Linked DNA regions of Homo sapiens: all the other regions are linked to region 1. Evidence: promoter capture Hi-C in 16 types of primary human blood cells and fetal thymus (Javierre and others, 2016). All regions are on one chromosome and are shown on one strand. Each heading gives the region's core, a stretch centred on a gene start or on the middle of the fragment in contact. The rest is flanking DNA. Distances are from core to core; before and after follow the strand shown. Region 1 holds the start of LINC00609 (long intergenic non-protein coding RNA 609). Region 2 overlaps SLC25A21 (solute carrier family 25 member 21). Region 3 has its middle 20 kb from the start of NKX2-8.

The links. The method cuts DNA at HindIII sites, captures the fragments that hold promoters and counts their contacts. A CHiCAGO score of 5 or more calls a contact.
Region 2: a contact is called between a fragment that was not itself captured here and the fragment with the promoter of LINC00609 in region 1, in 1 of 17 cell types (M2 macrophages). The highest score is 7.4, in M2 macrophages.
Region 3: a fragment that was not itself captured here is called in contact with the fragment with the promoter of LINC00609 in region 1 in 5 of 17 cell types (endothelial precursors, M2 macrophages, M0 macrophages and 2 more); the score reaches 9.9 in endothelial precursors.

What each region holds. Positions count from the first base shown.
Region 1 is chr14:36,069,003-36,071,787 of GRCh38, forward strand. It overlaps LINC00609 (long intergenic non-protein coding RNA 609), which reads left to right and starts at 1,425. Exons shown (of 3, transcript NR_073454.1): 1 at 1,425-1,683. The HindIII fragment of the contact is 3,305 bases long and covers 1-2,595 here.
Region 2 is chr14:36,942,873-36,945,657 of GRCh38, forward strand. All of the region lies in intron 1 of SLC25A21 (solute carrier family 25 member 21), which reads right to left. Among named protein-coding and RNA genes, the nearest start is that of MIR4503, 8.1 kb to the right of the region's middle. The HindIII fragment of the contact is 3,902 bases long and covers 1-2,785 here.
Region 3 is chr14:36,601,388-36,604,172 of GRCh38, forward strand. No RefSeq gene overlaps it. Among named protein-coding and RNA genes, the nearest start is that of NKX2-8, 20 kb to the left of the region's middle. The HindIII fragment of the contact is 3,992 bases long and covers 1-2,785 here.

The sequences.
Region 1 (2,785 bases), core at 175-2,674:
AATCCCATGTAAGTGGTCAGAGCACAAATGAGGTTGTCGGTGGGTAGTCCTACCCTATTCATGAGCTCTTTCAGAACAATTTTCATTACTTTTTTTAAATACTGTTTTTGGCAAACACTTGATACTTGAAATAAAAAATGCATGAGTCACCTACTGGGATAGGCACAGTGTGTGGTTCATTGAATTTAGCTAAATTGTGAGTCATCCATCAATAGTCCTCTTGGTGAACATACTTGTAATAATTTCACACATTACAAACAAAAATAGGTATGATTTTCAAGATTCTTGAAGCTGTTTCCCTTGGGGATTCTTTGGATTGTGTTTAGAGTTTTTTGTGTTGCTAGGTGGTGAGAAACTTGTCAGCTTTGTTTTCAGATGGATCCAAGGCTTGTGTCTCTGTCACGTGATAAAAGAACTTTGGTTTGGGAGGCTCAGGGGCAGAGTATGAAGCTGAGCGTCATGAAGTGGGGGGAAACAGGAATTAGCGATTAATATTTGTCCTTGTCAGATCATTGACTTTTAAGATTGATTTTGGCATCTGAAAAATGTTTGGCTCCACTCTCAGGACAGAGTCAGAGCAGTAAGAATATGCACCTGTGTCCCCCACCCCCTTTTTTCTGATAGGAGAGAGCTGAGCAGGGTGGTTATGTGTCTGTGCACTACTGCCCTCTGTTGGATGGCACTAGAATTTCTCTGTATCCACACCCCAGCTGAATGAGCGCTCCTGGTTGGCTGGCAGGTGACCCAGGCAAATATGTCATTATTGGACTAAGACCAATTAAAAAAAAATAGTTGGCCTGTATAAACTAAGAGAGACCTCTCTCTGGTGGAGAAATAAGAGTGTAGACTTTCTGACCTGTAGGGTTCTTCTATTCTGGTGGCTGCCGGGCAAGAGGCTGGCATCTGCTGCTGAATGACAGGACAGACTTTGTGATTAAACTGCTAGATCTTTGGCTTTTCAGGAAGTGAAAATAATCACAAGATAAAGTATCCTTACTTGCATTTTTCCCCTTTCATAAGTGCAATAGGGCATAAAAGGGCTTTGGCTTTTGGCTACAATCAGAGGTGAAAGTTTTTATATGGATATAAGAAGAGAAGTTAAAGCTCTTTGCAAACTATGGCTAAAGTGCCATGTCAGTAAGACGTATACAGTGACCCAGGACACTGGCTGGGAAGTTTTCTTTGTTTTGGCAGATTCCTCTGCCCTCCTTCACCTTCTCCAAGGTAGCGAGAGTAAGTGTCCAGGCATGAGCCTTGGGGATACTGTCCTGCCACTACTGGCTGAGTAACTTGGGAAAGTTGTCTGACTCTTGGGCCACATTTTTTCTTTTGTGTAAAATGAGGCATTTGAAATAGATGCTATCTCAGAGTCGCTTCATTTCTGAGATGCAATAAATTATCTTTTCTTCCTAGATGATAATGTAAGCACAAAGAACAAAACTATTTAAAGACCACACACATACCCTCTCAAACAAATCACCTCCCTTTGGGAAAGCAACATGTTCACTGTGATAATTCAGCATCAGGACCTGAGGTGGTGGGAACAGCTTTGGCTGGTTTGCTGCTCTCCAAGGAGCTCCTGTGCCGGCCGCATTGGACAAGCATCTCTGCCCTGCGGCGCAGAGTCTCCAGGACCAGCAGATGGCGGACTTGCACAGTCCACACATTTTCCAGGTTCTCAAGGTAAATGGTACTGATTAACATCCAGAAATAACACCCACTGATGTTTGAACAAATTGCAGCGTTTTCCAGGCCACTAAAACCATGGCACTTTGTGAGCTGGAACATTTGCTAATATTTAAAATGGTTAGAAAGATTGTTAATCTATAATACTTTCGAGTGTTAACAGCCTCTTTCACCCACGCATCAGAAACCCTTAATAAATTGGCCTTCTTTTTTTTCAGGTGGGGAAATTAGGGCAGAGGGTCAATTGGCTAAGATCACAGCAGAACTAGTCCAAATAATTCAGACTATACACCTTGGTGATCTTTTAGAATTGTCGTTCCTCTTGCCCTTCCTTTCTTTAATGCCCACTTCTCTTGGTTGTGGAGGGGAATGTGTGTGTTGACTGGGGATATGGAAGAGGAATTGACGTCTTCTGCACTTTGGGGCATTGCCACCTGCCATGGTCATCAAAGCTCCTGATCGCCACAACCTGTATTCAGAATACCTGTGATAATAAGAACTGGCATTTATTGATTACTTACTTTGAGCCAGGCATTGTTCTAAGCATTTCTCACACACTAATCATTTAATCCTTCCAGCAGCCCATAAAGGAGGCAGAGAGAGTAAGTAACTTACCTAGAATAACAGATCTTTGTATTTTTCTAGGCTCTAAAAGCAGCAATGACTTCAATCTATTTTTTAGTGGTAATCACTCTTTCACCCCAGATATTTTCCAGCTAACAGATCATTGACTGATTTTTAATATTTAAATTGAGAAATTTATTGGAGCTTTGGTGATAATCATGTAAGTAAGCCCTGGTTATAGTAGCTTGTAATGCTATTATTAGTGTTCAAGATTTCCTTTCACAACCTTGTGCTTAGAAGGAATGATTCACTAGAAATGGAAATAAGATGTAAATGAAATGGGGAAGCTTGGCAATTTAATCACTCAAGTAATACATATTTTCAAAGTGCTCACTTAATCCACTAGTCACAAGGCGGCATTAGAGATGTGTTGGGGGGTTTCACTCCAACAACATTTATTTATTTCAAAAACATACATAGTGGTTACTGCATACCAGGCACAAATATTAGTTCACTTAATTCTCCTCACAACTAT
Region 2 (2,785 bases), core at 180-2,679, 870 kb after region 1:
TGCAGAGGTATAGTTATTTTTCCTTCATGGCACTTTTTAGTAGGAGGGTAAATTTAGATTTGAGCCCCTCCCCTAGTCCACCCCCATCTTTTGGGACTGGGGAAGGTATGGTTCCAGTAGAGAGCTGCTTCTGCCTTAGAAGGCAATGAGTCAGAAACGCAAATCTGAGCAAAGGCGGAATTACTACTACATGCCAGAGAGAGTCACACATCAGTCAAGTCCACCAAGTGAACTCTATAGTCTTCCCAATTGTGAGACTCTATGATTTGCTGAAGAAAGAATTCTATTATATTTTCCTACATAGGGAGATAGATTTTAGTCACTGTCCCTGTGTTTAAGACTGAGTCTCACTCTGTCACCCAGGCTGAAGTGCAGTGGTGCAATCTCAACTCACTGCAGCTCTCTGCCTCCCGGGTTCAAGTGATTCTCCTGCCTCAGCCTCCCGACTAGCTAGAATTACAGGCACGCTCCACCACACCCGGCTAATTTTTGTATTTTTAGTAAAGACACCCTTTCACCATGTTGGCCAGGCTGGTCTTGAGCTCCTGGCCTCATGTGATCTGCCCGCCTTGGCCTCCCAAAAGTGCTGGGATTACAGGCATAAGTCACCGCACCTGGCCCTAGGCTTGTTTTGTATCATGTCTTAGACATGTAGGGGTTTATTTCAGAGCACACAAATGAACTATTCTAAGTATTCACACTATTGGAGGGCTGCTTCTGTCCCTCTGAGTCCCTGCCCTGCTGCTATATGTAAGACCAAGATGAACTGCCCCTGGTAAATCGGTCCTTGTGAAAGTCTGGGGAAATGCCAGGTAACCCAGTGACAGTTCCACTTGGCTCTTTGTAGCTTACACAGTACCAAACCTGAGAGAGCACTGCAAAGTCAGGTCAGGAAGGTTTCGCCAAGGCTTGGAAATAAGAACAGGGTATGAGTCTTATACCACCTAACTGGGCCTTCCAGTTAGCAAGAAGCCTTTGTTTAAAAAGCTGGCTAAGAAACCTCCTAGTAACATATTTCCCTGTAACAAGTTTAATTAATTAATTGAAAAAATACATAGTAAAAGATGTTTATATTAAATATAAAATTATCACCACTAAATTTATTAGAGGAGATAAAAGGCAACAGATTGGGCCTAATTCACTCCAAGAAAAGGATACCCAATTCCCTCTGAAATCCCAAATTCATACATATAAAAATTCTGCTCTAATCCTTCTCCATTTACATCACAGAGCCATGCTCCCGTGTTGGCCTCTGTACTGAAGAGTGACCAGAGGTAAATGCAGGTGCCTCTGGCCAGTTGTCAAGGTCATATCCTGAATCCTGTCGACACCTGGGACCCTAGCCCAGCATACTGTCGGGCAAGGACAAACCCATAGCCTGCCATTAATAGGGGAGGAAAGACATGTGGACAAGTAGCAGACAAAAGTGATTGTCCCAGTGGGCTTTGAGAAATTGTTATGGGAGTCCAGAGGAAGAAAACTGCCTTCAGCTTGCGGTAGGAGTTGGCAGGTTGCGGGTGGAGGGCATAGGGTATCAAGGAAGGCTTTCTGAAGGAGGCAGCTGGGCCTTGAGAGATGACTAACACTTAGTAAACCATGCTGGGGGAGGAAACATCACAGATAGTGAGAGGATCTCCTCTCTCCCTCATCCACACAGGCTGTGGAGAGCGACATCTGTTCCACAGTCTTCTCCCTGAAGGGTGGGGCTCCAAGGGCCGGCTCCAGTGTAAGCATAAACAAGTGACTACGAATGTCCTATTCAATACACAAGAAAACTCATGAACATTTGTAAAGCATTTCTAAGCCACAGAATTCATATGTGCCTCCTTAACAAAGATAAATTTCACATTTTTCCCTTTCTCACAGTTTGTCCCATCTTCTCTCATTTTATTGAGTAGAATGAGCCTTACCTCAAAAGCCAAACAAACACTGACCCAAGATGAGATGCCCTAAAGCTAGGTCCACTGCCTGAAGCTGACTCATCCCATCACAGTTTATTTTTGTTGTGTGAATCAATTCTAATTTTCAAACTGAAATATATGATGGTTTATCATCATTTTGACCTTTTCATAACACTGCTGGTACAGTTGCTGAGAACATGCCAAATCATGTTGATTTCTTCCTTTTTCTAGGAGTGTTCATCCTAGTCAGTCTTCTCAGGACAACCAAAAGCCAAAACCGAAACAAACCAAAAACCTCTTTCCCCTGACTCAGATTATTATTATTTTTAGTTCTTCAGGACTACCTGTGAGGATAAGAAGAAGTGGTTACCCAGTCCATCAGCAAAATGTCCCCATAATCCTTTCAAACTACTGAGAAATAAGGTATGTTATCTTCACTTAATGAAGAAACTGAGACATAAAAGTAAAGAATATTGCTACAAATGGAGGCAGAAATACAAGTTGATACCATGTGCCCAAGTGAGACATCTCATTTTTAGCCTGTGTAAGACAAATTTTAACCATATAATCCAGAAAATCCACTTCTGGGCATATACCCCAAAGAACTGAAAGCAGAGACTTGAAGAGATATTTGTACCCCCACATTCACAGCAGCGCTATTCATGAGAGGCAAGAGGTAGAAGCAACCCGTGTTCATCGACAGATGAATGGAAAAACAAAATAAAGTATATCCATACAAATGGAATATTATTTAGCCTTAAAAAGGAAGGACATTCTGACACATGCTAACATGAATAAACGTTGAGGACATTATGCTACATGAAATAAGCCAGTCCTAAAAGGACAGATACTGTGCAATTCCACTTATATATGGTATATACCTA
Region 3 (2,785 bases), core at 198-2,697, 530 kb after region 1:
TTCTCAATGTCATTATAATTTGCAGCTAGTTTTAGTTACTGTAGCACTTTATTTTGCCTGTAAAGGCTTCTAGTTTAGTGCTAGAAGTGTTGTAGTGCAGTGATGTTTGATTAAAATGTCATCAAGAGCAGAGGCTACATCTTTGGCTCGCCTTGTATTTTTAGAGGGACAAAAAGGAAATTCAAGTTTATGTTTCACTTAAAACTCAGCACATGCCTTCCTGTAACAATTATTCCCAGAATTGCATTTAGCTGTGTCCCTTCAGGTGCAGCAGGCCTGTTTGTAAACTCTGGCGTGATACAGGAACATGCTGGGTGGAGGTATTGGTGTATCCTTTTAGGGACAATAATGGCAGCTCATTTCTATTTATGGATTTAATTGATTCTAATCCAGAAGGCTCTGAAATCATGATTCTGTGCCAAATACCTCCCACAAAGGAGGATGGTTTGAAGACCCCTGTCAATCACCCAGCAGAGGCGATGAGTGCCCAAGTATTTCTGATTTTAAGGAGCCCCTTTAAGCCAATCAATTGCAGAGATTCTTACTTCCCCTGAGCCATGCATGTATTAATTCTATAAGAGCACCTTTCCCATTAAAGAAACTGATTGCAAACTTCCCTTCTAATTGTGAAAATGCTCACCTGCTCAAAGTAAACAGTTTGGGAAAGATACCTTCATTTTGCTTCAGTTATTTAAGTGAGGAGAGTGGAGTTTCAGCAGAAGTTTAAGAAGTTAAAATTCAACACCCATTCACAGTCATAAATACAGCAATTCATGCCTGAAGGGAGCACAGAAACTACAGAATAATCTTGTCGCCATCAGCCACTTTTCAGGGACCTCAGTTTTTTGGTTGGTTACAATCCCTAAGTAAGGGAGTAGTGGGAAGGCAAGTGTAAGGAGACATTGAGCTCATTATTGAGAAGGAATGATTATCAAAAACTGGAGACACTTTGGGAGGCCGAGGCAGGCGGATTGCTTGAGCCCAGGAGTTCAAGCAATATGGCAAAACCACGACTCTATTAAAAAAAAATACAAAAATTAGCCAGGTGTGGTGGTGTGTGCCTATGGTCCCAGCTACTTGGGAGGCTAAGGTGGGAGGATCACCTGAGCCCAGGGAGATTGAGGCCGCAGTGAGCTGTGATTGCACCATTGCATTCCAGCCTGAGCGATAAAGTGAGACCCTGTCTCGAGAAAAAAAAAAAAATGGAGACAATCTAAAAATGCAGAAGTTGGAGAATTATTAAATTAATTATTGATTTTGGTATAATTATATGCTGGAATACTATGTAATCATTAAAAACCATGTTTTATGAAGAACGTATAATGAGATGGGAAAATGTTCATGACACACTATGAAATGTAAAAAGTAGTATGCGAAATTGTGTGTATAATTTTTTAACAATTGGTATCCTAGAGAAAAGACTGCTTTGCAGCAGTTCAAAAGAATGAAGTAAACTTAACTACTCATGTGGGAAAATTCCTAAAGCATGACATTACATCATGAAAGCACATTTCAAAATAATGTACAGCACAATCCTATTTGGGGGGAATGTTGGATGGGGAAGGTTGAAAGGGGCTATAATGTCCTCTATATAATTTGAATTTCTGTAATAAGAATCTGTTTGTATATTATGAAATTTAAGATCACATTTTAAAAATTTAGAGTGGGAGAAAGAAGGGAGAAAAAATACTGGAAATGACTACAGTATTCACATCCCTTCCATTCCATATTGCCTTTCTAGTCACGTGTCCCTAGGTGCTATGGGGTCAGGTTCCTGTGAGGGAAAAAGGAGGGGAGAGCAGGGGCTGGGAGATGGCGTGGTTGTCTTTATTAAGAAACAGTACTTCATGTCCAAAACACCAAAAGCAATGGCAACAAAAGCCAAAATTGAGAAATGGGATCTAATTAAACTAAAGAGCTTCTGCACAGCAAAAGAAACTACCATCAGAGTGAACAGGCAACCTACAGAATGGGAGAAAATTTTTGCAATCTACCCATCTGACAAAAGGCTAATATACAGAATCTACAAAGAACTTAAACAGATTTACAAGAAAAAATCAAACAACCCCATCAAAAAGTAGGCAAAGGATATGAACAGGCACTTCTCAAAAGAAGACATTTATGCAGCCAACACACACATGAAAAAATGCTCATCATCACTGGCCATCAGAGAAATGCAAATCAAAACCACAATGGGATACCATCTCACACCAGTTAGAATGGCAATCATTAAAAAGTCAGGAAACAACAGGTGCTGGAGAGGATGTGGAGAAATAGGAACACTTTTACACTGTTGGTGGAACTGTAAACTAGTTCAACCATTGTGGAAGACAGTGTGGTGATTCCTCAAGGATCTAGAACTAGAAATATCATTTGACCCAGCCATCCCATTACTGGGTATATACCCAAAGGATTATAAATCATGCTGCTATAAAGACACATGCACATGTATGTTTATTGTAGCACTGTTCACAATAGCAAAGACTTGGAACCAACCCAAATGTCCAACAATGATAGACTGGATTAAGAAAATGTGGCACATATACACCATGGAATACTATGCAGCCATAAAAAAGAATGAGTTCACGTCCTTTGTAGGGACATGGATGAAGCTGGAAACCATCATTTTGAGCAAACTATCACAAGGACAGAAAACCAAACACCACATGTTCTCACTCATAGGTGGGCATTGAACAATGAGAACTCTTGGACACATGGTGAGGACCATCACACACCGGGCCCTGTCATGGGGTGGGGGAAGTGGGGAGGGATAGCATTAGGAGAT